3 separate regions of the Homo sapiens genome follow, and all the other regions are linked to region 3. Evidence: promoter capture Hi-C in 16 types of primary human blood cells and fetal thymus (Javierre and others, 2016). All regions are on one chromosome and are shown on one strand. Each heading gives the region's core, a stretch centred on a gene start or on the middle of the fragment in contact. The rest is flanking DNA. Distances are from core to core; before and after follow the strand shown. Region 1 overlaps RSPO3 (R-spondin 3). Region 2 overlaps RSPO3 (R-spondin 3). Region 3 holds the start of KIAA0408.

Region 1 (2,700 bases), core at 116-2,615, 300 kb before region 3:
ACCCTGAAAAGTGGGGCTTAGGCTGGGAGGGTTCTTGGCTTAGCCCAGAAAAGAATTCAAGGGTAAGCCAGTGGTGTTCAACAGCAACTTTTATTGAAGCAGCAGTGTACAGCAGCAGCAGAGGTACTGCTCCTTATGGAGCAGGGATACCCCATAGGCATTGTGCCCTGAGTACCATCTCAGAGGAAGTTCTGCAGTCACATTTATACCCACTTTTAATTAGATGCAAATTAAGGGGCACATTATGCAGAAATTTCTAGGAGAAGGGTGGTAACTTCTACGTCATTGGGTTGTTGCTATGGAAAGGGGTGGTAACTTCTGGGTGTTGCCATGGCAATGGCAAACTGACATGGCACATTGGTGGGTGTGTCTTTTAGAAAGGTGCTTCCACTCCATGCCTGTTTTAATTAGTCCTCAATTTGGTCTGGTGTCTGAACCCTGCCTCCAGAGTCAAGTCTCACTTTGTGAGTCAAGCCCTACCTCCTACCTCACTACTCATCTTTAAAGTCTCTCATAAAAACATGTTTGGTCTTCAGATGCTCTTTAATCATGGTCACATATGACTTATTCTCTGTTTTTATTTGATATTTTTTTCTCCTTAGCTATATTACTCAACCCTTATTCCTTTTTTTTTTCTTTCCCACCACCTCCAATTTAATCACTGAAACATCAAATCACCTTGTAAATTCAGTGGACAAGTATCAGAATTTATTATCCATGTAGGTGAAAACATTTAATGCCTCAGTGATAGGCCCCACCTCTTATTGTTTCCTCTGGCATTGACATTATAATAGCAGGATCTATGTGAGGATTCTTTGTTGCCTAGGTTTTTGGGTTGAAGACATGCACAATTGACTCCCCTGTGTCATAATGAAGCAGCAGAATTACAGCCAGCACCTTGATAGATATAGAAAAAAAAATGAAATGACAGTTTTTAAGTTTCTTGCCTCTAACACATTTTACATCCTATTGTATGTTCTTAAACTTCTCAATATTAAAGAAAAAGCTCTGCAGAAAATAAGACTTTATTTCATGCCTTGCATTCCTTGATATTATATCATTTTTTAGAACTCAGCCAGCAGTTACTACCTCTTACAATTCAGACCAAGTTTGCTCCATACCATTTTTGTAGGCTCTCTGAGATTTTGGGGATTTTATTAACGGTGGTCGAAAATCATGGTGGACATTATTCACAGTGGGAAATACTTAATTGTTATTATCATCCATGCAATCCCTTCATTCCTATGATAGTATAAGAATTATTTGTAGGCTTTTCTGCTAATTGGTGTGTACCTCAGCATTCCTATTCTAAAATAAACTTTGTAATAAATGACCCTTGAAAATGCCTATATTCTCTGAGATTTCACTTAGTGATATTTATAAATATTTAGTGCTTTGTGACCCATTGGTGAGTGTGACATAATACACAGTGATCAGGTTATTGAATAGAGTGGTAGCATTCTTCAGCTCCTAAGCAAACAATGATCTTGCCATTGTTTAGGTCTGGTGCACGAGGATTGTTTCAGTTAGCTTTTGCTGCATAACAAATAACCTCAAAACATAAAGGCTTAAAACAACAACCACTTACTTAACAATTTGTGGCTGGGCAATTAAGGCTGAGACCTACTGGGCAATTTTGATCTTGGCTGGGCTCTGTCACATTGTTGGATGGCTGGAGAATGAGGAAATTGCCATGTTTCTATTATCATCAAGATGGCAAGAGGTCCTACAGCCTTCCAAAGTAGAAAAGGTGAAGTCATTCCTCTTGAGGCTAGGCTCAGAACCTGGCATAGTTTTTACTTCCACCACATTCTGTCAGCCTATACTAGTCATAAGCCTAGTCCTGATTCAAGAGTTGAAGAAACAGATTTTATCTCTTGGCAGGAGAAGGTGCAAACTTACTTTGCAAGGTGGCATGCATATACAGGGTGGGAGAGGAGAATTATAGCCATTTTTGCATTCTACCCTAGAGGTCTTTCTCTTGTTTGTAGTTAGATTAGTGTGATTCCTCATTCACTTAACAATCTCTTATTGTCTGAAATACAGTAAGAGATTTGTATTTCCTTTGTAAATTTCCTTCCTTCCTTTGTAAAAACAGTCAACTATTGATACAGGAGATGTTGTGTTGGATATTATTTCTATTGTACTTTCTAATTTGTAAAGGGCAGAACAGGAAGAATAAATAAAATCTGAGGCCAAGATACCTTCATACGCTCAACAAATATTTATTAAACTTCCACCATGTGCTGGGCACTCTTAGGTGCTGAGGATAAAGCAGTACACCAAAAAGACAAAATTCTTTTCATCATAGATCTTATATTCCGAATGGTTTATATCAGTCCACAAGGTAATGACCATAGAGTATCAGCCCTTTTGTAAGCATACACCTTTGTTAACAGTTTTCACCTTTGTGATTTGTACCACCAGTAGCTGCTGTCTTCATTAGAGTTTCCTAACACATTACAAAGACATTTGTTAATGCTGGCAAAAATGAAACTTCTCTGCTTACATTTCATTTTGGTCTCAATGTGAATACATGTATTTTTTCTGTGACCACCATGTTGATGTGCTAATATGTTTTTGTAAGACGGCTAAGTAGGGTTAAAGGTACAGCTTGTGGTTGTGGAACAATGCTGAGTTAACCGGCCCTTTGGAGAAATGACCCCAAGACCTTGGCTTCCTTTACAGCCTGTTCTAGCC
Region 2 (2,700 bases), core at 14-2,513, 280 kb before region 3:
TGAGTTGATTCACTCAGCTGTTTTATAGTTTCATAGAGACCATTTATTATTGTTACTAATTATTTTTATTTTAGGGATTATAATTTTAGAATTCTTTTCATTTTCAACTACTTATATATCATTTGTTTCTCATACCTACCCCAAATAATGAGAATAGTAGGAATTATTGATTCTATTTTATAAATGAGGCAAACAAAGCACAGAAAGTGCTTTACTTAAGGTCATATTGCTGATGAGTAATATAGCCAAGTTTAAAATGCACGTTTCCTGATACCTATTTCAGATATTTAAAATTTAATGTCCCACTTTTTTTAAGCACACATTTTAAAAGATGAGGTCTTGAGAGTTTAAGTAATATCCCCCAAAGATAGACTATGACTAAATAGCTTGACAGAAAATCAAACTCAGATCTTTCTAACTTCAAAGCCCAAGGTCATAGCAGCTATACATTACTGCATCCCTCCTCACCTGCTGGAGAAGATCAGGGAAGAATTAATAGAGAAGTAGCCTTTAAAATGTATCTTGAATGATGTATGTAGGTAAGGGGTGATCTTCAAGATACTTAAAAACTATACAGTAAAATATACAAATACAGTACCCCATATATAAATATGTTAAATATATTATCATACATAGATAATACAGCTGCTTACCAGGTGTTGTTAGCAGTAGTGCAAATCATTTGTGAGGTTATTCAGTGATGCCTGAAAAGAGTTGCTAATTTTTAGAAATCACCCGGTATTGTTTTCAGTTTGTTAGGGTTGATTCACACACCCACACCCAGACCCATTCATACTCAGGGAAGGCTTCCTCAGAGACATTTTGTGCTTAACTCCTTAAATCCTCTGCAGTTTAAAAGTTCCAGCAGACCTTGCAGGATCCAAAAGTGTGCTTGATTAAGGGTGGGCAAGATGTAATGGACAAAAAAGGGATTCACCTTCCTCTCCCCAAATTCTGACATAAGAGATAAACAAGTAAGCCAACCTTACTTCTGCTTTCCTTCAGTATTTTCACTCCCCAATATTTGAAGTCACTTCTTGACTACTACTCTTTCTCCTAAATATTCTCTGGAGATAAGGGAATGGCTTATATACAGTCATTGATCACGTATCCCCGTTTCTACCTGTCTCAGTACATTTTTGTATTGCTATAACAGAATACCTAAGGCTGGGTAATTCATTCAAAAAAAGAGGTTTATTTGGCTAACAGTTCTGCAGGCTGTACAAGAAGCATGGCACCAGTATCTGACTCTGGTGAGGGCCTCAGGCTGCTTCCACTCATGACAGAAGGAAAAGGGGAACTGGCACGTGCAGATCATATGACTAGAGAAGAAAAGAGAGAGTGTGTGAGAGAATGGAGAGAGAGAGAAGGTGCCAGGCTCTTTTTAACAAGCAGCTCTCTGGGAAACTCTCCTAGGAACTAATATAGAGTGAGAACTCACTCATTACCATGAGAATGGCACCAAGTCATTCATGAGGGACCCACTCCAATGACTCCCAAACACCTCCCATTTGGCCCCACCCCAAACATTTGCGCTCAAATTTCAACATGACATTTGCAGGGTCAAATATCTAAACTATAGCATTACCTTAACTAGGTCTTAAGGTATATATGAAGTTTACTTTGCTCAGAAAATAAAAACCAAACATATGGGCTATTTCAAGCTCTTTACCCCTTTAAAACTTTTTTCTATCTATTTCATCTGGCCTTCTTTTTTCCAGGGTCACTTTATTTCGTTCTTAAATACTTCAATTAAATGAGAAATATTTATTTTAGAGATTAAGACAGTGTTCTTAGAGATTGAGTAAGACAGTGTTCATTCTTTCAGGAATTGTCACATTTCCTTTAATTTTCAGCTCATTTGCTTAAGCCTTTCCTGAGACTTTCTCTTCCCATTAATTGCATTGCACATAACATCTGCTGTCCTTGCTACACCCTCTTAAATGGAAAGTTTCATCATACTACCCAGTGGTCCATTTTGGTGGCATTCCACTGAAAGAAAAATTCAATGGATTACAACAAAAGCCACAGTTATTCGAAACTCAAGGGGAAGTCAGGCTTCTGAGACTGTGTAGTGCCACTTCAAAAGAGGATACAAAAGCCCCAAGATCAGGCAAGATGGGCTAGAATCATATTTCATGACTTTAAAGGAAGACTACATTCTCAACTCCACCAAATAAAGCATCATTTATGCTTGCTATAGAAGATAATTAAGGAAGACAAGGTTATTTTGTCATCTTTCAACTTTTGACAACCATCCCAAGTGCTTTCCTCTCTTCCTCTATTTCTCTTGTTATTTGTTCCTCTTCCTGACCACCTCTTTTTCTCCAAACAATCGCAAAAACTTTTTGGTAGACCACTGTTTTCCAGCTTTGGGCTGAGAGATGGACTCTGATCCACACTCCCAACCTCAGGGAAACTCTGAAGTCTTCAAATCACTAAAACTGTCCTAGAACTCAAATGCCTTCTGGAAACAAGAGAATGGAATTCTTTCTAACTTCTCTGTTCCAACCTGGACTTCCTAATGCCATTTCTTGAAACAGCTTTAGGGATACTCTAGTTATTCATCATTGACTTGGTCCCAAAGGACCAAGCATGACAAGTCAAAATGATATTCCTGAAAACATGATATAGCTCTCTGGAGTTCACTGTAATCTCTTGAAGCTGATATTGGAACAGAAGTAGCTAACTGGCTGAGTA
Region 3 (2,700 bases), core at 99-2,598:
TTACATATTCCAATAGAAATGCCACACACAGTAGGTACTGCTAATCTCACAATTCCTAGAAGACTCATTTGGCCTGAAGATGTTTTGCTTCTGCTTAACTTTGATGGATTAGGAATTCCCCAGCTTATAACCTATCAGAGTAATGTACCATTTACCTCCTAAATTCTCTATCCCTTTCTCCAGGCTATTATAATCACTTGAATTATTTCAATGAATTAATAAATCTCATTCCTCTCTATTGTTCACTTGCAATTGAATCTTTCCAAAGACCACCATGATTTGATTTTGTTAGAGTAAAAGGGAAATTTTTTTCATTGCTGTGTATTGCTGATTTAGCACATTCCTCATGCTCCAACAAGGTCAAAGAGACACTACCACATGCAATTCCGAATGAATCAACTTTACCGTTTCATTTAATTATCTTCTTCCTTGTTTTCTTTACAGTTATTTACTCAAATTAGAAAACATCCAAGCTGTATGCACACTGATTTTACTTATAAAATGCAAACTTTAAAAGCAAACATTTGGTTTGAGTAAACAAATGTCTAAAACTAACCATCGTGAACAAAAGACATAGTGGTAAGTTTCCCTCCTAAACGTAGATTATTCAATTATGAATGGCATAGACTTCAGCTCAAATTACAGAAACACTAACTCTACAGTGAGTCCACCACCACCTTAGATAAAACTAAAATTTATTTTTCACCGCAATTTTCAAATACCAAGTCTCCAGGATTGTGACCTTTAATTTGCAAATGTTAAAAGTCTTTATATGAATAAAAAAAATCACATTTGAATAAATATACTTAGTGAAAATCAATGATGGGCAAAGTGCTTTTCAAACAACTGAGAAGCAGTGTTGGAAAAACAGTCTCAAAGAGCGGATGGTACTGTCAGTCCACAGTTGGGAAATCCACCCTGAGCAGCTGAACAGCCTTTTTCCTAGGAGTCAGTACAATCTGTTATGCACCCCGCCCACTGTTTTTAAGCCCAGACACAGACAACAGCAGAGACAGATGTTGAAATTACACTCCACTTAAACAGTATCCATAGTTTAAAACATCTCAACAGCAGCCCCTTTGTATCCTGCCATAATTAGTCACTTGCTTGTAAACTTGCCGGAAAGAAACATACCTTTCACACTGGGGAGAAATCCTATGGATGCTCGACCACTGGTCAATTAGCAGTGGAAGAAAGTGGATGGCTAGCTGTCTTAAAGAGAAAAGTCTCAGCTCGGTGAATCTCGATTCTTTACAAGAAAAGGGGATGCAAAATAAGTCCAACCATTCCACAGAGCAGTACTGACAAGTCCCTTTGAAACCTTCACCACTTTTACAAGTCAAAAAGCTGCTCAGCTTAGTGTCACAGCAGCAGCTGAGACTACTGTGACGTCAGTTACTTGGAGGCGGCCTTCAAGCCACCTCTTCCAACCAGAGCTCTGTAACTTTAGAGCAGCTCATGCTCTGGGTAAACAACTCCAGGTCCAGGACATTTTTAGCTTTTATAATGGAGCCCAGTATTTTCAAACTTGCCAAAAGAGCTGGTTGTTAACATCATACAATGACAATGGCCAATTTTAGATTTATTTTATTAGGAAAGTAAACTCATTTTTTTATAGGCAAGAATTATCTCCCTCCTTCCATAATTCTTTCTCCTTCTCAGCTGGTGGCAGGATGTACTCTGCTGCACCTTTAGAAGTTTGCATCTGGATGTGGCAGAACAATATGTGTAGCATAATTATATATATTATGCACTCTCAAAAGATCTGTGAAAGTTATCAAACTTCTATCTTCAAATAAAATAGAAATGGAACATAAAGTCCAACCTCTTAGCTCTCTGTGATTCTGACAGTGTGTTGCTTTTATCTACAGTAGTAGCGATGTCTTTACGTTAGAGAAAATCAGAGCCCATGGGAAAGGATGAGATTTCTTATTGTGGGAGGACAAAACACACACACACACACACCCCAAAAATGAGATACCTATGGGCTTATTTTCCACTAAAGTGTGCTGCAGCCATAGGAAGAGAAAGCAGCCTAAGTGTATGGAAAAGCTCTCTAAATCATGATCAAATCAGCCTGTTCTGAAATGCTAGGAGATCTTGCCTCCCCAGCGACATTTTCAGGTTTATTGTGGCTTTGTACACACATGCATCTGATGATATTTGGTTTAATTTAGTCAAAAAAGTCTCTAGAGCAATTTTTTGCCTAACTTAGCAAATACACAAGTTTAAACAATAAGGTCTTATCTTCAAGTCTGAAGAGCTTCCCTGGTGTGGTCTTTAAAGTAATACATATTCACTCACATTATTTTCACCTGCTTCCAGATAAACATTTCATGAGGAGCTAAAGTTTAGTAATAGTAACCTGCTCACAGTAGGACTTTAATACATGTAGGACAATCAAATGAAACCATACTCTGTGTCTGGAAAGCCTGACATCATAATCTCAACAGCAATAACAACAATAACAGTGATAGTTATAGTAATAATAGTGATTATTCACTGAGGGGCAACCCTCTGCAAGGTTCTGTGCTAAGTACTTTGAACAGACCTTTATCTGAGTTCACCCTCAGAGCAATTCTGTCTCTAGATACTGATAATCTGATCTTACTGATAAAACCCAAGCAAGGCTCATTGTGGTAAAGCATCATGCAAAAGTTCATAGAAATGCACCCATGTGGAGGAAACGGGTTTGAACTG

What was found. The method cuts DNA at HindIII sites, captures the fragments that hold promoters and counts their contacts. A CHiCAGO score of 5 or more calls a contact.
Region 1: a contact is called between a fragment that was not itself captured here and the fragment with the promoter of KIAA0408 in region 3, in 1 of 17 cell types (neutrophils). The highest score is 5.0, in neutrophils.
Region 2: a contact is called between a fragment that was not itself captured here and the fragment with the promoter of KIAA0408 in region 3, in 2 of 17 cell types (monocytes and neutrophils). The highest score is 5.9, in monocytes.

Annotation. Positions count from the first base shown.
Region 1 is chr6:127,160,367-127,163,066 of GRCh38, forward strand. The region is part of intron 4 of RSPO3 (R-spondin 3); the gene reads left to right. All of the region lies in intron 3 of LOC105377989 (a long non-coding RNA gene), which reads right to left. Among named protein-coding and RNA genes, the nearest start is that of RSPO3, 43 kb to the left of the region's middle. The HindIII fragment of the contact is 2,870 bases long and covers 1-2,700 here.
Region 2 is chr6:127,180,731-127,183,430 of GRCh38, forward strand. The region is part of intron 4 of RSPO3 (R-spondin 3); the gene reads left to right. All of the region lies in intron 1 of LOC105377989 (a long non-coding RNA gene), which reads right to left. Among named protein-coding and RNA genes, the nearest start is that of RSPO3, 63 kb to the left of the region's middle. The HindIII fragment of the contact is 7,451 bases long and covers 1-2,700 here.
Region 3 is chr6:127,458,041-127,460,740 of GRCh38, forward strand. It overlaps KIAA0408, which reads right to left and starts at 1,349. Exons shown (of 6, transcript NM_014702.5): 1 at 1,135-1,349. The region is part of intron 7 of SOGA3-KIAA0408 (SOGA3-KIAA0408 readthrough); the gene reads right to left. The HindIII fragment of the contact is 12,466 bases long and covers 1-2,700 here.